Linked DNA regions of Homo sapiens: regions 1, 3, 4, 5, 6 and 7 are each linked to region 2. The links are contacts of gene promoters, found by promoter capture Hi-C in blood cells and fetal thymus (Javierre and others, 2016). All regions are on one chromosome and are shown on one strand. The core of a region is centred on a gene start or on the middle of the fragment in contact, and the rest is flanking DNA. Distances in the headings are between cores, read along the strand shown. Region 1 has its middle 25 kb from the start of OR4C12. Region 2 holds the start of OR4C5 (olfactory receptor family 4 subfamily C member 5). Region 3 has its middle 85 kb from the start of LINC02750. Region 4 has its middle 4.5 kb from the start of OR4C12. Region 5 has its middle 4.5 kb from the start of OR4C13. Region 6 has its middle 130 kb from the start of OR4C12. Region 7 holds the start of LOC101060224 (a long non-coding RNA gene).

Region 1 (3,494 bases), core at 912-3,411, 1.6 Mb after region 2:
CTCCACATCTGGGGGCAGGGCATAGCCAAACAAAAGGCAGCAGAATCCTCTGCAGACTTAAATGTCCCTGTCTGATAGAGTTGAAGAGAGTAGTGGTTCTCCCAGAATGCAGCTGGAGATCTGAGAATGGACAGACTGCCTCCTCAAGTCAGTCCCTGGCCCCCCAGTAGGGGCAGATGGACACCTCACAGGGCTAGGTACTCCTCTGAGACAAAACTTCCAGAGGAACGATCAGACAGCAGCATTCACGGTTCACAAAAATCTGCTGTTCTGCAGAAACCTCTGAGGATACCCAGGCAAACAGGGTCTGGAGTGGATCTCTAGCAAACTCCAACAGACCTGCAGCTGAGGGTCCTGTCTGCTAGAAGGAAAACTAACAAACAGAAAGGACATCCACACCAAAACCCCATCTGTACGTCACCATCATCAAGACCAAAGGTAGATAAAACCAAAAAGATGGGGAAAAAACAGCAGAAAAACTGGAAACTCTAAAAATCAGAGCGCCTCTCCTCCTCCAAAGGAACACAGCTCCTCACCAGCAATGGAACAAAGTGGGATGGAGAATGACTTTAACGAATTGAGAGAAGAAGCCATCAGATGATCAAACTATTCCAAGCTAAAGGAGGAAGTTCGAACCCATAGCAAAGAAGTTAAAAACCTTGAAAAAAAATTAGATGACTGGCTAACAAGAATAAGCAATGCAGAGAAGTCCTTAAAGGACCTGATGGAGCTGAAAACCAAAGCACAAGAACTACATGATGAATGCACAAGCCTCAGTAGATGATTCGATCAACTGGAAGAAAGAGTAACGTGATGGAAGGTCAAATGGATGAAATGAAGTGAGAAGAGAACTTAAGAGAAAAAATAATAAAAAGAAATAAACAAAGCCTCCAAGAAATATGGGAGTATATGAAAAGACCAAATCTCCGTCTGATTGGTGTACCTAAAAGTGATGAGGAGAATGGAACCAAGTTGGAAAACACTCTGCAGGATATTATCCAGGAGAACTTCCCCAATCTAGCAAGGCAGACCAACATTCAGATTCAGGGAATACAGAGAACTCCACAAAGATACTCCTCGAGAAGAGCAACTCCAAGACACATAATTGTCAGATTCACCAAAGTTGAAATGAAGGAAAAAATGTTAAGGGCAGCCAGAGAGAAAGGTCAGGTTACCCACAAAGGGAAGCCCATCAGACTAACAGCGGATCTCTCAGCAGAAACCCTACAAGCCAGAAGAGAGTGGGGGCCAATATTCAACATTCTTAAGGAAAAGAATTTTCAACCCTGAATTTCATATCCAGCGAAACTAAGTTTCATAAGTGAAGGAGAAATAAAATCCTTTACAGACAAGCAAATGCTGAGAGATTTTGTTACCATCAGGCCTGCCCTAAAAAAGCTCCTGAAGGAAGCATTAAACATGGAAAGGAACAACTGGTACCAGCCACTGCAAAAACATGCCAAATTGTAAAGACCATCAAGGCTAGGAAGAAACTGCATCAACTAACGAGCAAAATAACCAGCTAACATCATAATGACAGGATCAAATCCACACATAAAAATATTAACCTTGAATGTAAATGGGCTAAATGCTCCAATTAAAAGACACAGACTGGCAAATTGGATAAAGAGTCAAGACCCATCAGTGTGCTGTATTCAGGAAACCCGTCTCACATTCAGAGAAACACACAGGCTCAAAATAAAGGGATGGAGGAAGATCTACCAAGCAAATGGAAAACAAAAAAAGGCAGGGGTTGCAATCCTAGTCTCTGATAAAACAGACTTTAAACCAACAAAGATCAAGAGAAACAAAGAAGGCCATTACATAATGGTAAAGGGATCAATTCAACAAGAAGAACTAACTATCCTAAATAGATATGCACCCAATACAGGAGCACCCAGATTCATAAAGCAAGTCCTTGGAGACCTACAAAGAGACTCAGACTCCCACACAATAATAATGGGAGACTTTAACACCCCACTGTCAACATTAGACAGATCAATGAGACAGAAAGTTAACAAGGATATCCAGGAATTGAACTCTGCTCTGCATCAAGCGGACCTAATAGACATCTACAGAACTCTCCACCCCAAATCAACAGAATATACATTCTTTTCAGCACCACACCACACCTATACCGAAATTGACCACATGGTTGGAAGTAAAGCACTCCTCAGCAAATGTAAAAGAACAGAAATTATAACAAACTGTCTCTCAGACCACAGTACAATCAAACTAGAACTCAGGATTAAGAAACTCACTCAAAACTGCTCAACTACATGGAAACTGAACAACCTGCCCCTGAATGACTACTGGGTACATAACGAAATGAAGGCAGAAATAAAGATGTTCTTTGAAACCAATGAGAACAACGACACAGCACACCAGAATCTCTGGGACACATTCAAAACAGTGTGTAGAGGGAAATTTATAGCACTAAATGCCCACAAGAGAAAGTAGGAAAGATCTAAAATTGACACCCTAATGTCACAATTAAAAGAACAAGAGAAGCAAGAGCAAACACATTCAAATGCTAGCAGAAGGCAAGAAATAACTAAGATCAGAGCAGAACTGAAGGAGATAGAGACACAAAAAACCCTCAAAAAATCAATGAATCCAGGAGCTGGTTTTTTGGAAAGATCAACAAAATTGATTGATCACTGGAAAGACTAATAAAGAAGAAAAGAGAGAATAAAATAGATGCAATAAAAAATGATAAAGGGGATATCACCACCGATCCTACAGAAATACAAACTACCATGAGAGAATACTATAAAACACCTCTACCTCTATGCAAATAAACTAGAAAATCTAGAAGAAGTGGATAAATTCCTTGACACATACATCCTCCCAAGACTAAACCAGGAAGAAGTGGAATCTCTGAATAGACCAATAACAGGCTCTCAAATTGAGGCAATAATTAATAGCTTACCAACCAAAAAAAGTCCAGGACCGGATGAATTCACAGCCGAATTCTACCAGAGGTACAAGGGGGAGCTGGTACCATTCCTTCTGAAACTATTCCAATCAATAGAAAAAGAGGGAATCCTCCCTAACTCATTTTATGAGGCCAGCATCATCCTGATACCAAAGCCTGGCAGAGACACAACAAAGAAAGAGAATTTTAGACCAATATCCCTGATGAATATCGATGCAGAAATCCTCAATAAAATGCTGGCAAACCGAATCCAGCAGCACATCAAAATGCTTATCCATCATGATCAAGTGGGCTTCATCCCTGGGATGCAAGGCTGGCTCAACATACCCAAATCAATAAACGTAATCCAGCATATAAACAGAACCAACGACAAAAACCATATGATTATCTCAATAGATGCAGAAAAGGCCTTTGACAAAATTCAACAACCTTTCATGCTAAAAATTCTCAATAAATTAGGTATTGATGGGACGTATCTCAAAATAATAAGAGCTATCTATGACAAACCCACAGCCAATATCATACTGAATGGGCAAAAACTGGAAGCATTCCCTTT
Region 2 (3,582 bases), core at 170-2,669:
CTCACAATAATAGTTCTACTTCGATTTTATTAGTTGGGATTAAAACTATGCATTTTCAACAAAAGATTTAGCCATTAGGTCTTTTTGTTTATTTTAATTATTTGGCCTGTTAGTTATATACTCTATACCGAAGCTTTGCAGATAATTATTCTACTAAACACATAAACTCATGGGTTTTCCATACACTGTAACATTTTTATGTTGACTAGCAATGTCCCCCTGATTAATAATTTGTAAATGTGAAGAAGTTTCAAATTGGCAGAAACATTAGTCATCATTTAATCAGATATTGATCTTTTATGAAAAGGCATCATTAAAGATTCCAGAAAATGAGGGGAATAAAATATACTTAAACTCACTATTCTGACCTCAAGACCTTTACCCTTTTCATTAGTCATACCTGTTGTTAAAATATGAGTAGGTTCTGTGTTTATCTTCTCTAATCACACAAATTGTTACCCCAGATTATTTGGCTCCAGAGCTGCTTCATGGCATTTTTCACCTCTGTGTTTCTGAGGGTGTAGATTAAAGGGTTTAACATGGGTGTTACCACAGTATAAAACACAGACACAGCTTTATCAATAGGGAAGGTGATCATGGGTCGAAGGTACACCAATATACAGGGAACAAAGAATAGGACGACTACAGTGATATGGAAGGCGCAGGTAGAGAGAGCCTTCCGCTGTGAGCAGAGGATTAGGACGTAAGAGGTAATAAGAATAGAAAAAATGAGCATACACATCAGCCCACTGTTGGCGGCAACAAAGAGTCCAAAGACGTGAGTGTCAGTGCAGGAGAGTTTTAGCAGAGGGAAAAGGTCACAGATGAAATGGTCAATGACATTGGGGCCACAGAAGGGCAGCCAGACTATTAAAAGCATTTGAATCAGAGCGTGAAGAAATCCCCCGACCCATGCCATGGCCACCAGGAGGCCACATACCTGCCTGTTCATTGTGATCAGGTAGTACAGGGGCTTGCAGATGGCCACATAGCAGTCATAGGCCATCACCACGAGCAGAATGATCTCAACTCCCCCAAAGAAATGTTCTACAAAGAGCTGGGTCATGCACCCACTGAAGGAAATAGTTTTCTTTTCAGTGAGTAAGTCAAATATCATTTTGGGGGCCATGGTAGAAGAGGAGCAGCCATCTATGAAGGAAAAGAAAGACAGAAAAAAATACACGGGGGAGTCCAGGGCTGGGCTGGTGGTGATTGTCACCACAATGATTAGGTTGTCTACCATGGTGAGAAAGTAGATGAGTGTAAACACAGCAAACAAGAGTTTCTGTGCCTCTGCGTTCTGTGTCAGGCCAAGCAAGATGAATTCCGTTATGTTGTTCACTTGCTCGAAATCCAGTTTGGTATTTGGATAATTGATTTTTCTGTGAATAGCACAAGGATTGCAATTTGACACATACATTTTGAACAATAAAATAATTTTGGTCAGGATTATTTTCTGTAACACTGATGGAATCCCTAAATCTATAAACCCAAGACTAAGTTGAGCTATGTTATTCATGACATAATGAACACAGATACCTCTTCTCTCTCATACAGAGACACACACAGACACAGAAAAACACATACACACATTCATTTATGTACACAAACATGATTTTATGATGTTGACATGTCAGGCATTTTTCCTATGATTGTACATGGATGGATATTCTCTCAATCACCCTTACAGCATTTTTTTCCCCATAGAAAAACAGCAGTAAAAAGAGGAGGAGCAGAGGCTTGAATTCCTGTCAATTTCCTAGTTTCTTTTTTTTTTCGTTTTTTTTTTTTTTTTAACCACTCATGTTCATGAGGCTACGGTGCAGAGTTTGTTATTCTGGTTATTTTTAACTTGTTTCAGGGTAACTATAAAACATCAGGTGAGTTCACTTTGAAATTAAGGATGATGCCACCACATTTCAGAATCAACTGAACTGAGTGAATGTTTGAGGCTGCAGTAAGATACTCCATGGCAGTTAGATTTGAGAATTTATGCCACATCCAAACAGAATTGTCTAAGAATACAATCAAACACTTCTGGAAGCATATCCTGGAAGAGGATAAAACAGCATGATGCAAGGCAGCATTCCCCAGATGTATCTGAAACTTTAGAATTCACTTGGAGAACTGTCATGTTTAGAATTCAGGGCATTTTGCAAATCAAAACCCAATTTAAGGATGACTATGAAAAATTATATGGATCTGTTTAGAAAACATAATTTTAAGGTGAGGGAAAAAAAGCACCATAATTTATTGGACAGAGTGTTTTTTAGAATCAGATGCCTAATTTTTACATTTTATCTTCACTGACTATTAGCCACATGATATTGTGTACAGATCTTAGTCTCATTGTGCCTAAACTTTTTCATATATAAAATGGGAAAAATAACAAATGGAATGGAGGAACTAAAGAATATCATGATTAAATATATCAAGCTTTGTATCCTAAAGGTAAACCTATAGCTTACCATGTACTCCACATCTTGATAAAGAACACAAGTAAACAAAATTTTGCATATAATTATTTTTATCTTTAAGTTATTTATCATTGTAATATTAAGAGAGAAAATAAATGAACTCAGTACTCAACTCAAGGTAAATAACAAGCAATTATATTCAGAAAAAAAGGTGTAACACAGAAAGACATCAGGCAATAAAAAATTAGACTTGATAACTAAATTAAAAAGCTTTTTGATATTTTAAAAATACAAAGAAAACTGAAGAATAGAAATGAGCTCAATAAGAAACAAATATGGTAATACCACCAAAGGATATTATTTGTGAATAATATTTAGAAAGGTATTATGTGTAGCTCATAAAAGATTTTAAAATAACTAGATAGGTGTTTTTCAAAACGAAATAAGTCTCTTCTTAATGGAATCATCAAAAAAAGAAAAAAAAGAACCAAAGAAAAAGAGAAAAAAGAATAGCATGTATTAAAGACTTCAGGTAAAACATAGATCTTTTCAAAACCAAAAAAAAAATCAATATATATTTCATCTGTAGCTAAGAAAGGATATTTTAAAATAAAAATATAATGGTATAAGATACAAAACAAAACTGATGAGCTCAGCTACATAAAGGTATGGAACACCTTGGAAAAATAATTGCAACAAGTATGACAACTGTTATTATAAAAGCAGTTAACAAATTAAAATGTTTACTCACACTATTAAGGTGTGAATTAAGGTGTAAATAAGGGTAAAACTAAGAAAAGATAATTCTCAGAAAAAACATTAGACATCTAAAAAGTCCTCTTTCATAAGTTACCAAAGAAATGCAATTTTAAAACAGTAAAATACTGATGAATTGGCAAAGATTTATGATAGTTGTGTTATTCAGTGGTGGTGAATGTGTGTTGACATAAAACATTCTAGAAAGAAGTTTGACCCCTTATTATAATAAGGGTTTTGTAACTAGTTATGACCCTTGGCACAGTATTCCTTATGTTTAGAAATCTACTCTAGATAAAAAATATAGACAAAATTATGTATACAAGTTGTATTTCACAATATTTTTATACTAATAAAAAGGTAAAAAACTCCAAATATACATAAAGAGGAACAGTTAAATGAATTATAG
Region 3 (3,978 bases), core at 608-3,107, 1.8 Mb after region 2:
TTCCTGTTCTGACGCCTCATGCTTGGCATCTTCCTCTGTTTATACTTCTCTTCATGTCCCTTAAACCTAAATTAACCTTTAGTGTTTCATATCCCTAACTTTACTCAAATGACTCTGCAAGAAATTAGGTAAGATTCACACTAGATCTCCTCCTCTTCCTCTGTCTCCTTTTCTTCCTTGTATGCAATCAGGGGATTTTACTATAATTAATCCTCTGGGAACAAATTCCTAACTCCAATCCACTCTATATGATAAACCTACCCAAGCTCCTGTCATGGAAGTGATCAGACAGTTGAATTTTGTACTTCTGATGGTAAACAGTGCATAGTGTATTACTCTGTTTTCATGCTGCTGATAAAGACACACCCGAGACTGGGTACTTTATAAAGAAAAAGAGGTTTATTAGAGTCACAGTTCCATGTGTCTGGGGAAGCCTTACAATCATGGTGCAAGGCCAAAGGCATGTCTTACATGGTGGCATACAAGAGAGAATGAGAGCCAAACAAAAGGGGAAACCCCTTATAAAACCATCAGATCTCATGACACTTATTCACTACCACAAGAACAGTATGGGGGAAGCCAACCCATGATTCAATTATCTCCACCAGGCCCCTCCCACAACATGTGGGAATTATGGGAGCTACAATTCAAGATGAGATTTAGGTGGGGACACAGCAAAACTATTTCACGTGGCCAACAAATGCTTTATATTATAATTATTCTTGTTTGAGTACTGGTATGATATGAGGCTGGAAACCAGATGGAAATCAAACATTTTAGAAATTCATCCCAAAAATCATTTAGTGGAAGGGAGGTGTAGTCATGACTCCAGAGGCACAGTCAGGCAAAAAGCCACATCCCAAGTATTAAAAGCCTGCAAAAATTGCAAGGTGTTGATTAGAGGTCAAAACAAAAAATCTGCAAACATATCAAGAACAACAGAAACCATAATATAGTTGTCCAAGCAAGGGCAGGTTCTGGAAGAAATAATCCTGAATGTGAACCACAGGTCAGGAACAAAGAAACCCAGGGAAGGTGGTAGAAGCAGGAAAGTGGGAGTGACATGGAGATACCAACTAAAGACAACTGCTTTGGTCTGGACTGCTTTCAAGAAGCTCTCCATGTCAGCTCCTATTCCCTGATGTCCTAAAATAACATCTGACATGCAACAAGTAGAAAGGATTCATCAAAAGGGTACAAGTTGGAGCAGGCTTATTGGACATTTACTCAAGACAAAAGCTCATCTTGGAGATTTCCAAGAGCCACTTTCTTTTTTCTTTTCTTTTCTTTTTTTTTTTTTTTTTTTTTTGAGATGGAGTCTCACTCTATTACCCAGGCTGTAGTGCAATGGCATGATGTCAGCTTACTGCAACCTCCACCTCCCAGGTTCAACCAATTCTCCTGTCTCAGCCTCCCAAGTAGCTGGGATTACAGGCACGAGCCACCACACCTGGCTAATTTTTGCATTTTTAGTAGAGTTAAAGTTTCACTATGTTGGCCAGGCTGGTCTTGAAAGCTTGGCTTCAGGTGATCCACCTGCCTAGGCCTCCCAAAGTGCTGGGATTACAGATATGAGCCACGACGACCAGACAAAGAGGTCAAAAGTGTCTATGAAAGTATAAACACTTTGCTTATTGATAAATGAAGTTCCTTCCACAAAATAGCCTTATCTTTTCACGTTAGAGTTCTGCAGGTGTCATCACCTCACAACACATAAAATAACACCAACCATTGTCTATTGATTGTGACAATGCTTGTTCCTGTCTCCTGGGACACATATGTGAGCACTTTAAGTTGAACTTTGCAAATGGCTTTCTGAGACTGAGCTTGACCAGAGCTGACCTTAGTTGGATCAAAGCAGAAAAAAGCAATAGATCAGTTCACTGCAAGGCCAAGAGGAGAGGAGGTTTTTACTTCCCCAAGTGGAGGTGAGTCAGAGGAACAAATTCTAGTCCCACTTCTAACACTATCTAGCCAGGTCAGCATACGCAACTCACTTCAATTCTCTGAACTTCACCCAATCTCAAAGGGATGCTGTTGTAACTCAGACAATGGTGACATCAATGATCCTTCCCCTTAAACTCTAGATTTTAACATTGTTTTGCAACCTCATTCCCTTAATTGTGGATAGCCCATTGTCTCTCCCAAAGACTTGTGAAGATTATGGGCAGGCTTCCATTTCCTTGCCACCTTTGGCTTAAAGCTTTGTCATTTACTCTTGTCATGATATATTATCAGTACAAAATGATGTTGCTTCCCATTATCCAGACACAGAAACCATCTCTTCCCCTTGATTTCCCTCAAACCCACTAACACAAGACCTTTGTATTTGTAGCAGACTTCTGGATATTCAAATACAAACAATTAAAAATAGGATCTTTAACTTCTTTCTTCTCAAAGTTCATTATTGAACATCTCCTAAGACAGATCCTCTTTCTCTTCTCTGTTCTCCTCTGAATTTGTATTCTTTCTGTTGTAGAATAGCTTACTCATATCTTTTTAGCACCATCTCCTTCCAACCTCAACTTGCATTCTACACTGAGTGGCTCATTGTGGGGGTTCAGTCAGGCTGGTGGGAAAAGTTTTAGTTATAATAACCACAAACCCTCTTGGAAGGCCTGAGAGTTTGCATAACTTTGGTAATAGATCTGGCTGAAGGCAGCCAGAGTCCCTTTGCAGGAGCCAGAGAGCTTAGGGTGCAAATACAAAGGAATGTAGAGTAGTTTATCTAACTAACTTGTTTACTCATGTGGTCCTAAGACTAACCTTTGATTTACCGCGGGTGCTTAATTGCTTTTTACTCTGAAAGTCCACAATGTCAATTACCCTCTAGTGGTGTTGACTCGAGCCTTTGTCAATTAAACTTCACTGAATAAACGCGAGTCTCACTGGCTGGTCAGGGCTGTGGTTACAACTAAGTGGCATGGATGCTCAGTAGAACTGGCAAAGCAGAATATCTGTGTATCAGTGTATTTTATTCGTCCATTATTGGGTCAGTGTCTGCAGGACAGACCCCCCCCCAGATCATAAATGTCATTCCCTAAGCAGAGATACCCTCCTCTCTAAAAACACTTCTGGGCTGGGTGTAGTGGTGCAGTCTTGTATTCCCAGCACTTTGGGAGGCTGAGGTGGGAAGCCCACTTGAGCCCAAGAGTTCAAGGCTGCAGTGAGCTATGATCTTCTGACTCTTGTCTTTAGATATTAACTGTTTATATCTTTATTTAAAGAACTTACAGTAACAGTAGACATAACTACTGGCCAAATTCTCAGGGACTTCTGAGCATTCATAATGCTCAGCACTTATAATGCACTAGGAATTGTGCTGAGAATTTTCACATCAGTCAATTCACACATTGCCTTCAAAGCTCCCAAACGTGGGGTCGACATCCTAAACTGAGTTCAACCTGAGGAATCCATCAACCTGACTCATTCTAAGGTCACATCATATAGAGTGGTTTGGAGTTTGGAATTTGTTCCCACAGGATTAACTGTAGTGAAAATATCCCGATGTTATAGAAGAATGAACAAGAAGAGAAGGAGGAAGAGGAAGATGAGATCTAATGTGAATCTGACTCAATTTCTTGCAGAACTATTTGAGTAAAACTAGCAGTGGAAATGTCCACAGATAAATCAAGATGTTTCTGACATAGGAATAAGAAACTGCAGTTTTCGTTCAAGGGCAATGTGTCTATGCTGGAGAGGAAGGCTGGAGATCGAGCATAGAAAGGTCTCTGTTCCTGGGGCCTAGTGCAGTATCCATGATTCCTACTGAAGACACAAGGCAAAGGGGTTGCAGAAAAGAACTGTATAAATACCTGCTGCAGTAGCTTTAGTGGGAAGATCAGTGGGTACCACTGCAGAGGCTCCTCTGGTGGGCTGCAGTGGCAGTGCCTTTGCAAACATTGATGGAAGTGTTGCCATTTGGGAAGAACATTTCAGCAGGAAACATCGCCATAGGCAACTCTGGGAAGAAGCTTT
Region 4 (3,462 bases), core at 458-2,957, 1.6 Mb after region 2:
GGCGTGAACCCGGGAAGCGGAGCTTGCAGTGAGCCGAGATTGCGCCACTGCAGTCCGCAGTCTGGCCTGGGCGACAGAGCGAGACTCCGTCTCAAAAAAAAAAAAAAAAAAAAAAAAAAAAAAAAAAAAAAAAGGATTCCTAGATGAAAAGATATCAAAAATATGACCAGAAGGATGAAAAGGAGTCAGCAGAATGGGGGCCAGACACAGTGGCTCACGCCTGTAATCCCAGCACTTTGGGAGGCCGAGGCAGGCAGACCACGAGGTCAGGAGTTCGAGACCAGCCTGGCCAACATGGTGAAACCCCATCTCTACTAAAAATACAAAAATTAGCTCAGCGTGGGGGCAGGCACCTGTAATCCCAGCTACTTGGGAGGCTGAGGCAGGAGAATTGTTTGAACCTGAGAGGCAGAGGTTGAAGTGAGCTGAGATCATGCCATTGCACTCCAGCCTGGGTGACAGTGCAAGACTATGTCTCAAAAAAGAAAAGAAAAGAAAAGAAAAAAGAAAAGAAAAGGAGTCAGCAGAATGAATATGCATGAAGGTGAGAGCAGTGCTTGTAGGAGAGAGAATACATAACAAAGGCCAGGAGGTGAAAAGAGTATGCAGGAAACCTAGTCAGTGCAGTATGGCCATGATTATTAATTTGCTCATTCATTCAGCAATTATTTACTGAACCCCCAACTTGCGTGCCAGCCACCATGAGAGACACTGAGCTTATAAAGTCTTGTAAATTGTAAGATATGAAGCTAGAGAGATAGGAAAAGAGAATATCAAGAAGGTGCTTATAGTTGTGTTAAGACTTAACACTAATGACTATGGGAGAAACAGGGAAAGTATATTTAAGCTAGTGAGTAATGCAGTTAGATTTTAATTTTATAATGATAATCCTAACTACAGTATGTACAATGGATTGATGGATCAAGACTGGAAGCAGGAGAGCACCTAGGGGTTATTGTAATTATTTCAGTGTGAAAGGCTGGAGGCCTCAGCCCTGGTGTTGCCAGTAAGGACGCAGAATGTGGTGGACACTATTGTGTCCAGCTCAAATCCCCTTCACCAGGCCAGTGCACAAGTGCCCCAGCTACTGTGGGTGTGGGCTGCCAACAGCTCACAGCCTTGCCCTTTTCTGGACAATTGCACCAGATAAAATGGGAGCTGCATCACTTAGGGTATTTTGTTCCCTCTCCCGGAGCCCACCAGCGATGATTGACTGGAATAGGGTTTAAGAGGTTAGTTCCTTTGTCTCAAGGTGGAAGCAGTTCTGTAGTACAATGTATACCTCAGAGCTCCCGGGGCTCCAGGCTAGAGACAGATTAGTTGAGACCACATCCTTCCTTCCCCTACTATTGTATGTTTCCTTCAGTCTTTTCCCCTTATAAATCACGTTTATTAAAATTCCCATATCATCCTCTGAGCCTAGAGAAATCAAATTAACATGGAGAGATATAGAAGGTTTCGAAGAATATTTTTGAATTCTAAACAAAAGAACTTGATATAGGATGAAGATTAGAGAGAGAGAAGTCACAGATGAAACTTGGGCCCTGGCTTAGATCACTGGATGGAAGGAAGAGAGAGAAGATTAATGAGGTTTTGAATACATTGAATGATGTTCAAGTCTCAATGTAGTAATAAATATTACACACATAGGTAATCCTAGGACCTGTCATCAGAAACAAGACCTGGAGGCAAGGCATAGAGGCAGAAAAGTGGTAGACAGGGGTTGGGGGAATGGGCATAATGGGGAGATGTTGGTCTAAAAGTACAACATTTCAGTTAAACAAACTGAATAAAGTCCTGAAGATGAAATGAACATCCTGGTGATTATACTGAATAATAATAATGTAATGTATACTTGAAATTTACTAAGAGAATAGATCTTAAATCTTACAAAAAAAAATAGTACCTATGTGAGGTGAGAGCTATGTCAACTAGCTTGATTATGGTAATCATTTTACTGTGTATACATATATCAAAACATCACATTGCATATCTTAAATATATGCAATTTTTGTTAGTCAGTATTACTTCAATAAAGCAAAGAAATATTAGAAATTAAATGGTATGATATAATGATTTTATAATACATAGTTGATTTTTTATTGTACAGATACTAATATTTGTCTTATTATTCTAAGTGAAGTAACTCAGGAATGGAAAACCAAACATTGTATATTCTCACTGATATGTGGGAGCTAAGCTATGAGGATGCAAAGGCATAAGAATGATACAATAGATTTTGGGGACTTGGGGAGAAGAGTGGGAGGGGGTCGAGGGATAAATGACAACAAATATGAGGCAGTATATACTGCTCGGGTGATTGGTGCACTAGGATCTCACAAAACTCCACTAAAGAACTTATCATGTAACCAAATACCACCTGCACCCCAATAACTTATGGGAAAAAAAATTAAAAAACACATACAATGGATTATACCAAGAAAAAAATTACTAATATTTGTGATTAATATCTTCCTAAATCCAAACTGTTCAAGAAAAGCATAATATGTTAAGTGAAGTTTGGCTTATCTATGACAGTTGATGGAATTATTAATGCTAAGTCAAAGTATAAAATCATTCAGGAATGAGCTGGATGTGGAAGGTAGAGCTGGAGGTTGAGGCATAGTGGTCTCAGGAACACAGATTCAGGGATACAAATGGGAATGGAGAATGAGATATCTCTGATAACAGCTTTTAATCTTTTTTATTACATGAGTAGTAGTAGGAAATAGAATTGCGTGGAAAAAAGTTAAACTAACATAAACAGTGAAGTGCACTATGCATATAAGTCATCTTTATTAAGGCTGTTTACCTAATGATCCTCTCTAAGACTACCTGTACATGCTCAGTGGGGAACACTTATGAAAGTTTTAACAAGTATTACCAGTTTCACTGACAATTTTCTATCCAAACTGTCTAGTCATCTTTATTAATTTCTTTACTCTAGAATGAGTCAAAAGACACTCTAGAATTGTGTCCCAGGAATCTCTGCTGCATCCATCTTCTACTCACCACTCTAAAATTTCTTGAGTATCTTCATGCCAGGTACCTGTCTTGGTGACTTATGTGTGATTTTGCCTTCCTGCCAGATTGAAGTTTCAGTCGCCCTTGGATATCAATTCTGGTTGTGTCCCTGGATGCTATATATTTCCAGTTTTCTCATAACTTTATCTTTCTACACATTCCTGTTCCCATTCTGGTACCAGTCTAATGCCTAGTGACCCATCATATACCTTTTGACAAAGGAGCAAAAACTAGATCCTTCATGCTTTGAAGAGTATAACAATTGCCAAATCATGAAAATTCAGTTAAAAGTTTAAATAAGCCAGGCACATGCCTCACTTTGTAATCCCAGCACTTTGGGAAGCCGAGGTGGGCAGATCACCTGAGGTTGGGAGTTCGAGACCACCATGGCCAACGTGGTGAAACCTTGTCTCTACTAAAAATATAAAAATTATCCAG
Region 5 (3,638 bases), core at 1,055-3,554, 1.6 Mb after region 2:
TTCACAAAAGTTAGGATACTCTGAGACACTTCAAGAAGAGAACAGAGAATTACAACCTAATACTATAAATAGTAAGATCATGGAATTACAGAGTGCTGTGAAAGCATGTTAGAAGGACACACAACAAAGACCTAGGAGATCTAAAAAGGATTCCTAGATGAAAAGACATCAAAAACAGAAGCTGACCAGGCACAGTGGCTCACGCCTGTAATCACAGCACTTTGGGAGGCCAAGGAGGGTGGATTACTTGAGGTCAAGAGCTCTAGACCAGCCTGGCCAACATGGAGAAACGCTGTTTCTACTAAAAATACAAAAATTAGCTGGGCGTGGTGGCGCATGTCTGTAGTCCCAACTACTTGGGAGGCTGAGGCAGAAGAATCACCTGAACCCAGGAGGCAGAGGTTTCAGTGAACCAAGATCTCGCCACTGCACTCCAGCCTGGCTGACGGAACAAGACTCTGTCTCAAAAAAGAAAAAGAAAGAAAGAAAAAAAAAAAAAACAGAAGCCAAAGGGAGAAAAAGAGTCCGCAGAATGAGTAGGCACAAGGTTGAGCTAAGAGTGCATCTATGAGAGGAAATAAGTAACAAAGGCCAGAAGGTGAGAAACAATCAGCAGGAAACCCAAACAATTCACTATCACTGTAATTATCAATTTATCTATTAATTCAACAATTATTTATTGAACCCCCATTGTGTGCTGGTGTAGGATACCGAGATTGTAAAAGGGAAAATACAAGACATGGAGCTGTAAAGTAGGATCTTGGTAAGATCAAAAAGGGTCTCATAATTCTGTTAAAACTAAATACTAAGTACCATGGAGAAAATAGTGAAAGTACTTTTAAACTAGCAAGAAATGTAGTTGGATTTGTTTTGGGAAGGATAACTCTAGCTACAGTATGGAAAATGGATTGAAGGGTCAAGCCTCCAAAGAGAAGAGCAACCAGGAGGTAATTATAATGATTTAAGTGTGAATAAATGGGGGTCTGAACTTTGGTGACTCCCAAGAGATGCCGAGTGTTAGGGACACTGTTGCATCCAGCTCAAATGCCTTTTGCCTGGTAAGTGAACTCATGCCCCACCTGCTGTGTCTGGGCTGCTAACAGCTCACAGCCCCACCCTTCCCTGGACAATTGCACCACAGAAAATGGGAGGTGCCACACTCAGAAGATTATGCCCACTGTCAAGGCCCAGCAGTGGCCAATGACTAACAGACACGAAAGTTTAAAAGGTTGTTGTATAATACGATGTATCCTCCAGAGCTTCAATGGCTCCAGACTCAAGGCAGACTTCAATTGAGACCACATCTGAAGCCTGACATCTGAAGCCTGACTCCAGTTGAGATCATGTCCTTTCTTCCCTCTACCATAGTTAGCTTCCCTCAAACTCTTCTCCTTATAAATCACTTTTGTAAAAATTCTCAATCTCAGATCTGCATCTAAGAAACCCAAACTAACACAGAGTAATAGAGACAGTTTAAGATACATTAATGAATTTTAAGGAAAATAACTTGATATAGGATGAAGATTAGAGAGAAAAGAGTCATGGATGAAACTATGTTTCTGCTTCAGAAGGAGGATACTCAGAAGATTGAACAGAGAAAAGATAAGCCTACTTTGCCAGCGGAAGAGGCCTCCCCACCTCGAGTAGAGCCTTTCCTTCACCCTTAGCAGAAGAAACCTCTTCACCCCTACTGAAGGTTTAACCTTGCATTGCCTGAGGAAATTATATGTCCTTCCCTGAAGCAGTTCCCCAGCAAAACAATGTTGATTTCCCTCAAGACCCATCTTCATCATCCCTCTTTGCTTCTAGACCTATAACTAGACTCAAGTTTAAACTCAACTGTGAAAGGTTTATCTGTGGCATTGCAGATGGCATCTGAACTCACTCCCAGAAGATGATAAACGTTAACTTCAGAACAAATCAAGAAAACTTTATTTGAATGCAAATAAAGCAATGTTCTTCCCTAAAAAGTCATCAGTTTATCACACAGTTTCAGTCAGGTTAGCTGAAGGTGTATTAGTAAGGGAGTGGGGAAAGAGAAAACAAATGTAGGATTATTCTACTTATCTCTAAGTGCTCATGGAATGTACACCACAATAGAAAATACACTGGGCCACAGTACAAGATGCAATACATTTCAAAGGACTAAACCATACAGAACACATATCTGATAATAGTAAGCTTCAACTAAAAATTTATAACAAAAGTATAACTAAACATCCCCCAATTATTTACAAATCAAGCAACACAATTCTAAATTATTCATATATTAAAGAAGTGCCAATGAAAAATTTTTAATGAATTTTAACTTAAAGGTGGTAAAAACAAACAAAAAAAAATACTAGATGCAGCTAAAGAATTGCTCAGAGAGAAATATATAGCTTTAAATGCAAGTACTAGAAAATAAAAAAGATTAAAGGAAATGAACTAAGCTTTCATCTCCAGAAGCTAGAAATAGTAGAGCAAAATAAATGCATAAAACATGGTATAATATGAACAGTAAGTAGAAGACAGATATACTTGAAATAAAATTAATTTAAAAATAGAGAAAATACATAAAGACTAGGGTTGATTTTGTGTAAAAATTAATAAAACTCATGTCCTTAGCAAAATTGGTTTTAAAATATAAGGAAAAAAAATTATGAGAATCAGCAGTGAAAAGGCTATGCTGTAGATTAACAAGATAATAAAAGGCCATTACAAATGAATTTTGCTAATGTCCTTGCCAGTTTAAAAGAAATGGACCTCTGCTTTGAAAAACACAGCTTTCTATTTTTTGTCATTCAAAAATGTCTGTAAAAACAATATTTCGATTGAATAAAGGAAATATATGCATCCTCCATATGCAAAGAGTCTTACAAGTTAATTACAAATCATTCAGCTACAAAATGGGCAAAGGAAAAGAACAATTTCCAAAAGAAGAATGAATGGTCAATAAATGTATGAAAAAATTTCAACTTCATTAGTAACTGGAGAAATGCAAATTTAAAACATTTGTACTAAGCAACTTTTAATTTTTATTAACAAATAATAATTGTACATATTTATGGGGTAAATAGTGACATTTTGATACATATAATGTATAGTGATTAATTCAGGGTAATTAGCATATCCATTATCTCAGACATTTATCATTTCTTTGGAAAAACACAACTTTCTAAACACACACACACACACACGCACACACACACAAGCAAAACCTGAATAACATACATGTGCTAAATTCACACTTGAAAAATTTTCCCCTGACTTCTCCCAAAAATACCAAGATTATATCCCTGTAGCTTTATCAGTGAATTCTACATATCACTTTTAAAAAATACTACCAATTTTATATCAACATTTTCAGGGATTAGAGAAAATGAAAAAGGGCATTACAAGAAAAAATATCAGATAAATATCTCTCATTAACACAGTCACAAAAATTCTGAACCCAATATTTAGCAAATAAAATACAGCCATATATAAAAATAATAATGTATCACGAGCAAGTAAGTTTTGTCCCAGGAATGAAATGTTGATTTCACATTCAAAATCAATTCATGGCCACATGCAGTGGCTCACACCTGTAATCCCAGCACTTTGGGAGGCTGAGGTGGGCAGATCGCTTGATCTCAGGAGTTCAAGACCAGCTGGGG
Region 6 (3,627 bases), core at 895-3,394, 1.7 Mb after region 2:
CATCCAGGTCTAGGATTACAAGTATAGGTTTTTGTTTTTTTGTTTGTTGAGATAGAGTCTCACTCTATCACCCAGGCTGGAATGTAGTGGTGCAATCTTGGCTCACTGTAACCTCTGCCTCCTGGGCTTAAGCAATTCTCCTGCCTCAGCCTTCAAAGCAGCTGAGATTACAGGTGCCCACAACCATGCCCAGCTAATTTATGTATTTTTTGAAGAGATGGGGTTTCACCATGTTAGCCAGGGTAGTCTTGAACCCCTGACCTCAAGTGGTCCACCTCCCTCGGCCTCCAAAAGTGCTGGGATTATAAGCAAGAGCCACTGTGCCCCACCTGGGTACAACTATTTTAAGACCACTTTCAGCACAAGTGCTATTTTTGTTTAATTTTTCAGATGGAGTCTCACTCTGTCACCCAGGCTGGAATGCAACGGTACAATCTCGGCTCAATGCGACCTCTGCCTCCCAGGTTCAAGTGATTCTCCTGCCTCAGCCTCCTGAGCAGTTGGAACTACAGGCACCTGCCATGACGCCTGGCTAATTTTTTGTATTTTTAGTAGATACTGGGTTTCATCATGTTAGCCAGGCTGGTCTCAAACTCCTGACCTCAGGCGATCCACCTGCCTTAGCCTCCCAAAATGCTAGGATTACAGGCATGAGCCACCGCGCCTGGCCACAAGTGCTTTTTTATTAAATACTTCTGTGGTTCCCCTTCCCCATACAAAAAGGAAAAAAAAAAACAAAAAGGAAAGGGGAAGCTATTGTTCAGGGCCAGTAAGGGGTTTATCTAGCTTTGTGGCATAAAAGAACCCATAATACTTAGTAAATTTAATAATATTTAATAAATTTATTAATATTTAACAGCATTTAATACATTTATTAATATTTAACAATACTTAATGGATTTGATAAATTTATTAATATTTAACATTACTTAATAAAATTAATCCATTGTCTAGCCCTTGCATCTGAGAATTATTGCTGTAACAAAACACCAAGGACAACTAGGCCCTCCTACCTCCCTGTAGCCTCAACTAGATAAATGCAAACATGTTGGCTCATGCCTGTAATCCCAGCACTTTGTTAGTTTTTTTTTGTTTTTTGTTTTTTTTGAGCTGGAGTCTCCCTCTGTCACTCAGGCTGGAGTGCAGTGGTGTGATCCCGGCTCACTGCAACCTCTGCCTCCTGGGTTCAAGTGATTTACCTGCCTTAACCTCCTGAGTAGCTGGGACTACAGGAGTATGCCACCACGCCTGGCTCATTTTTTGTATTTTTAGTAGAGAAGAGGTTTCACTGTGTTGTCCAGGCTGGTGTCGAGCTCCTGAGCTCAGGCGATCTGCCTGTCTCAGCCTCCCAAAGTGCTGGTATTACAGGCTCACCATGCCCAGCAATCCCAGCACTTTGGAAAGCCAAGATAAGATCTGTTGAGCCCAGGAATTTGAGAGTAGCCTGGGCAACATAGGGAAACACCGTCTCTACAAAAATTAAAATACTAGCTGGGCTTGGTGGCATGTACCCGCAATCCCACCTACTTGGGAGGCTGAGGTGGGAGGATCACTGGAGCCTAGAAGGTTGAGGCTGCAGTGATCTATGATTGTGCCATTGCACTCCAGCCCAGACAACAGGATGAGACCTTATCTCTTAAAAAATAAAAAGATAAATGCAAACGTGAATCACCTACAGAGTTAAAAGGCCACAAATGTTCCAATGTTAGCAGGGAGCCTAGGAGGGAAGAAGCCTCCACAGCTGCCCCAGTCAACCCAACTAAGAGAAAGAGGTTGGCGGCCAGAGAAATAGGTAAGGCAAGCCTTCATTTGAGCCCATCAGCTTCTGCAGAAAAAATATTCCATGGTCATGGGATGACCTGACGGACTGATGCAAACTGTCCACACAGCTAGTTTATCTTTGCCTCCTCTCTAGATCCAAAATGTACTGGAAACGAATGCCATATGAGATCTATCCCTGCCCTCCTTTTCACACACCCTTTCTAGGAGAGCCCACACAAGCTGATGACCCTAGAATTCTGGTTAACATAAATCTAGATATCATGCTAGATAGAGCTCTGTCTTTCCAACTATCTTTTAGACATCTTTACCTGGATGTCCTGAGCATCCTATGTCCAAAGATTAATTCCTTCTCCCCAACAACATATGTTCTTTGTTTCTCCACTTTCCCTGTCTCAGTTAATTACACTGCCATGCACCAAGATACCTGAGCCAGAAACCTGAAGGGCATCCTCCAGTCCTCCTTCTGCCCACCTCCTGTTTCTATTCACTGTGTCAGCAATAAGCTGTCCTGATATTTTACCTCCTAAATATCTCTTAAAACCTCACTTCCCCTTCATATTCACTGGCACCCCCTATTCAGCATCTCATCACTCAATAAACAATATTTAATGAGTATAAAGCATAGCTAGGTGTTTTAAAAGAGAATAAAAACAGTGTGATCTTTGTTTTCTAGTGGCTTAACATCTAGTTACTTTTTTCTTTTTTTTTTTTTTCTGAGATGGAGTCTTGCTCTGTTGCCCAGGCTGGAGTACAGTGGCGTGATCTCAGTTCACTGCAACTTTTGCCTTCCAGATTCAAGCAATTCTCCTGCCTCAGCAAGTAGCTGGGATTACAGGTGCCCACCACCACACCCAGCTAATTTTTCTATTTTTAGTAGAAATGGGATTTTACCATGTTGACCAGGCTGGTCTTAAACTTCTGACCTTGTGATCCACCAACCTTAGCCTCCCAAAGTGCTAGGATTACAAGCATGAGCCATGGTACCAAGCCAACATCTAGTTATTTCTTATCTGAACTATTCAGCTGTACTCTTGCCTCTTACCATTCATTCCCTAAACAATACCCAGAGTGTCTCCTCCTCAAAACTTAAATTAGATCATTTAATTCAGGGGTCAGTAAACTTTTTCTATAAAAACAAGACAGTGAATATTTTAGGTTTCTGGGTCATATGTTTCTGTTGAAACTACTCAACTCTGCTCTTGTAACATTAAAAACAGCCCTGGACAATATGTAAACCCATGGGTGAGACTGTGTTCCAATATGGTTTATTCATTAAAATAGGCAGCAGGACAGATTAGACCCATGGGCCGTAGTTTGCCAACCCCTGATTTAATTGCAATGCTTCTTACTCCATTGGATTTAATCCAGATTCCTTTCCATGGCCTAGAAGGTGCTCCATCCTCATCTGAATATTACTTGCTCCTCTAGGCTCCACTATGCTCCAGCCACCCTGACCAGCTTTATGGTGCTTAAACACTATGTCAAGTCTGTTTACATCTCAGGTCGCTGCACTTGACATTCTACCCAGCAGGACCAGACCAGATCTTGACCAGATCTTCTTCAAGCTGCCTCAGCTCAAATGTCAGAGAGGTCTTCACTGCCCACCCCAATAGGTCAGTACCCATTCCAATGCCCAAACATTCTAACTCCCATAGCTCTATTTATTTTCTTCAAATTACTTATCACCATCTGAAAAAAATATCATTTGTTGCATGTATATAGCCTGCTTCCCCACCACCACACCACCACAAGAATGGAACCTCCCCGAGAATAGAGACTGAGTTACTCATTCTCCCCTAGTTCCCAGGACCTAGATATGTGCCTGGCACTTAGCAGGGGCTCAAA
Region 7 (3,546 bases), core at 517-3,016, 1.7 Mb after region 2:
CTCTTATACAACTCTTCCTCACCTTTCAGGACTTGGCTTCAAAGGTCACCTTAACTAGAAGCTTCTCTCACACTCCAGAAAAGCTTCCCATTGCATATGATGCATGCACTATTATTTGATCATTTTTGAGTCATATTCCAAGCCTTTTTGTACCTGAATAACATGTTGCCCAGTCAGTCTCTCTTCCTGGACTCTGAAGTCTTTCATGGTAGATCCAGCTGAGAGTGACAAAAAGACATTCTTTTGAAATAGAGGGATGACACAGACAGACATACGTTCTTAAACGTTTTAAATGGTATGTGAAAATTTAACAAAATTAAAAGGCTTGGGGGAACACTTAGGAGGGAAAGTTACTGGGAATGTCATAAAGGATTAATTTGTATTTTATTTTATTTTATTTTAATTTTTTGAGACAGAGTCTCATTCTGTCACCTAGGCTGGAGTGCAGTGGTGCAATCAGGGCTCACTGCAGCGTCAACCACCTGGGCTCAGGTAATCTCACTTAATTTTTATTTGGTTTAAAAAATTCAGTCTTGGTTGAGCATGGTGGCTTATGCCTATAATCTCAACACTTTGGGAGGCTGAGAGGGATATATTACTCGATGCTAGCAGTTTGAGATCAGCCTGGGCAACATATTAAGGCCCTGTCTCTACCAAAAAAAAAAAAAAAACTGAGTGACTGTGTGGAAGACAATTTTTCCACAGACTGGGGGTGAAGGAAATGATTTCAGGACGATTCAAGTACATTACATATATTGTGTACTTTATTTCTATTATTACTACACTGTAATATATAATGAAATAATTCTACAACTCACTATAATGCAGACTCAGTGGGATCTCTGAGCTTGTTTTCCTGCAGCTAGACTGTCCATCTAGGGTGATGGGAGACAGTGACAGATCATCAGGCATTAGATTCTCATAAGGAGAGTGAAACCTAGATCCCTCACATGCACATAACAGGGTTCATGCTCCTAGGAGAATCTAATGCTGCTGCTGATCTGACAGGACATGGTGCTTAGGTGGTCATGCAAGTGATGGGAGGGCTAGAAATACAGAAGAAGTTTCCCCTCATTCACCTGTTGCTCACCTCCGGCTCTGTGACCCTGTGGTTGGAGTTCCCTGCTCAAGTGCATTCAAAAGGATCCATCCCATGCCATTCTTCAGAGTCATCTTGACTGCCACAGTGGTCAAGTGTAGCAACTCTAAGCTCACAGGGCTTATGCCTCACCTGGCATTTCATCACAATCAACAGTAAGTGATAGCTTGAGTCATTGTGAGGTCACTTCCTGGAAATTACCAGCATCCCATGTCCCATTGACAAGGAGCTTAGCACTGCTCCTTGGATAACCGAACCTATGCCCAAATTCCATCTGTGTGGGTCTATCTCCTGGGACCCTTCCTAGCATAAATTCTGTATTTGTAGGAGTCCAATCAGGAGACACAAACCACTCAAAAGTTTAAACTAGAATGAGCAAAGTGGCTCACACTTGTCATCCCAGCACTTTGGGAGGCCAACGCGGGTGGATCACTTTGAGCTCAGGAGTTTGAGACCAGCTTGGGAAACATGGTGAAACCCCATTTCTACAAAAAAACACAAAAATTAGCCAGGTGTGGTGGTACATATCTATAGTCCCACCTACTCGGGAGGCTGAGGCAGGAGAACTTCTTGAGCCTGGCAGGTGGAGGTTGCAGTGAGCAGAGATTGTGCCACTGCACTCCAGCCTGGCTGACAGCATGAGACCTGGTATCCAAAAATAAAAAAAAAGAAAAAAGAAAGAAAAAATATATATGTAAATTTAATATAAAAAGTATTAATTTTGGCCAGGTGCGGTGGCTCATGTCTGTAATCCCAGCGCTTTGGGAAGTAGAGGTGGGTGGATCACCTGAGGTCAGGAGTTCGAGACCAGCCTGACCAACATGGAGAAACCACGTCTCTACTAAAAACACAAAATTAGCTGGGCGTGATGGCACATACCTGTAATCCCAGCTACTCGGGTGGCTGAGGCAGGAGAATCGCTTGAACCCAGCAGGTGGAGGTTGCGGTGAGCCAAGATCGTGCGATTGCACTTCAGCCTGGGCAACGAGTGAAACTCCATCTCAAAAAAAAGTATTAATTTTAACAGAGGATCAGCATAATGAGGGACACACTAGCACAAAGTAAAGACAACTCTAGAGAATACAGAACTAGCAGAGGCCAGGCATGGTGTCTCATGCCTGTAATCCCAGCAATTTGGGAAGCCTAGGCAGGAGGATCGCTTGAGGCCAGGAGTTGGAGACCAGTCTGAGCAACATAGTGAGACCCTGTGTCTACCAAAAAAAGAAAAAAAATTTAGCCAGGTGTGGTGGTGGTGCACATCTGTAGTTCCAGCTACTTGGGCATCTAGGGTGGAAGGATCCCTTGAGTCTGGGAAGTCTAGGCTACAGTGAGCCAAAATCATGCCACTGCACTCCAGCTTGGGTGACAGAGACCCTGTCTTAGAAAGAAAAAGAAAAGAAAAGAAAGTGCTAATCCCCCTATGGGGATCTCCTCTTCTCCTCCCCTCTCTGGAACCTCACTTGTCAGTTCTTCCTCCCACTTCCCTGTATCTTTAAACTATCCCCTGCTTTTAGCCCCTTCCCACTATCATTTAAATTACTCAAACTTCTTCTATTTTAAAAACCTCTCCCTAAACTCAGTGTGTCCCCTGCTTTAGGTCCCAGCACACCCACTGAGCCATCTGCTCCCCCTGGTGCCTTCTCCACACAGCAGCCTGAGCCATGTCTCTAATCCATTAATCTCATCACGTTACTCCAAAGTTTACATCACTTCTCCTTGTCTTGGGGATTAAATCCAAACTTCTTAACAGCCCCTGTTCTGCCCTGCCTTGCAAGGCAGCCTCACTGCTTGCCCCTCTCCATTTTACCTGCTGTGGAGTCCAACTGAGCCTCATGTGCCCCATGAATCAGGCATTAGATTCTCATAATGAGCTGAATCCTGCTCTTATGAAATCCACACTCTTTCTCCTCTGGGAGTCTCTGAAGTGAGTGATACCCTCTGCTTAGAATACACTTCCCCTTAAACCTCTACTCTCTTCCTGGATAGCTTTGGGTCCTCTGTCACTTGTCTGCTTTGGCATCACCCCCTCCTGGAAGCCTTCCTTGACTCTCCAGATTCTCAGGAGCATGAGAGGTGAGGTGCTCCTCCCATGAATGGATGGAGATTAGGGATTATGGGTTATTCATGTTTAATTCAACAGTTCTTAGCTCAGTACCTGGCACAAAACAGTTACTGTGGTGGCCAAAGTAATGACCCCACCCCCCACCCCCCACCAATTGCTCATGTCCTATGTTACACAGCACAATTACATAGGAAGGGGGAATTAAGAGTACAGAAGGAATTAATGTTGCTAATCAGCTGATCTTAAAACAAGATTATCCTGGAGTATCTGGAAGAGCCCATGTAATATCAAGCTTTCTTTAAATGTGGAAGAGGGAGGCAGAAGGTTAAGAACCAGAGACGGCGGGTACAATGGCTCATGCCTGTAATACCAACACTTTTGGAGG

What was found. Contacts are between HindIII fragments. The CHiCAGO score rates a contact against its expected background, and 5 or more counts as called.
Region 1: a contact is called between a fragment that was not itself captured here and the fragment with the promoter of OR4C5 in region 2, in 17 of 17 cell types (monocytes, naive B cells, total CD4 T cells and 14 more). The highest score is 51.6, in monocytes.
Region 3: a contact is called between a fragment that was not itself captured here and the fragment with the promoter of OR4C5 in region 2, in 4 of 17 cell types (M0 macrophages, endothelial precursors, erythroblasts and 1 more). The highest score is 7.3, in M0 macrophages.
Region 4: a contact is called between a fragment that was not itself captured here and the fragment with the promoter of OR4C5 in region 2, in 11 of 17 cell types (fetal thymus, total CD4 T cells, total CD8 T cells and 8 more). The highest score is 18.6, in fetal thymus.
Region 5: a contact is called between a fragment that was not itself captured here and the fragment with the promoter of OR4C5 in region 2, in 2 of 17 cell types (fetal thymus and M1 macrophages). The highest score is 5.5, in fetal thymus.
Region 6: a contact is called between a fragment that was not itself captured here and the fragment with the promoter of OR4C5 in region 2, in 5 of 17 cell types (M0 macrophages, naive CD8 T cells, erythroblasts and 2 more). The highest score is 7.9, in M0 macrophages.
Region 7: a fragment that was not itself captured here is called in contact with the fragment with the promoter of OR4C5 in region 2 in 9 of 17 cell types (endothelial precursors, total B cells, M2 macrophages and 6 more); the score reaches 11.0 in endothelial precursors.

What each region holds. Positions count from the first base shown.
Region 1 is chr11:50,005,532-50,009,025 of GRCh38, forward strand. No RefSeq gene overlaps it. Among named protein-coding and RNA genes, the nearest start is that of OR4C12, 25 kb to the left of the region's middle. The HindIII fragment of the contact is 5,877 bases long and covers 1-3,494 here.
Region 2 is chr11:48,365,046-48,368,627 of GRCh38, forward strand. It overlaps OR4C5 (olfactory receptor family 4 subfamily C member 5), which reads right to left and starts at 1,420. Exons shown (of 1, transcript NM_001348223.2): 1 at 440-1,420. The coding sequence starts at 1,420. The coding sequence ends at 440. The HindIII fragment of the contact is 2,303 bases long and covers 132-2,434 here.
Region 3 is chr11:50,211,713-50,215,690 of GRCh38, forward strand. No RefSeq gene overlaps it. Among named protein-coding and RNA genes, the nearest start is that of LINC02750, 85 kb to the right of the region's middle. The HindIII fragment of the contact is 687 bases long and covers 1,515-2,201 here.
Region 4 is chr11:49,976,278-49,979,739 of GRCh38, forward strand. No RefSeq gene overlaps it. Among named protein-coding and RNA genes, the nearest start is that of OR4C12, 4.5 kb to the right of the region's middle. The HindIII fragment of the contact is 6,886 bases long and covers 1-3,462 here.
Region 5 is chr11:49,955,073-49,958,710 of GRCh38, forward strand. No RefSeq gene overlaps it. Among named protein-coding and RNA genes, the nearest start is that of OR4C13, 4.5 kb to the left of the region's middle. The HindIII fragment of the contact is 251 bases long and covers 2,180-2,430 here.
Region 6 is chr11:50,106,064-50,109,690 of GRCh38, forward strand. No RefSeq gene overlaps it. Among named protein-coding and RNA genes, the nearest start is that of OR4C12, 130 kb to the left of the region's middle. The HindIII fragment of the contact is 7,100 bases long and covers 1-3,627 here.
Region 7 is chr11:50,087,207-50,090,752 of GRCh38, forward strand. LOC101060224 (a long non-coding RNA gene) reads right to left here and starts at 1,271. Exons shown (of 3, transcript XR_931262.2): 1 at 1,080-1,271; 2 at 154-218. The HindIII fragment of the contact is 3,370 bases long and covers 82-3,451 here.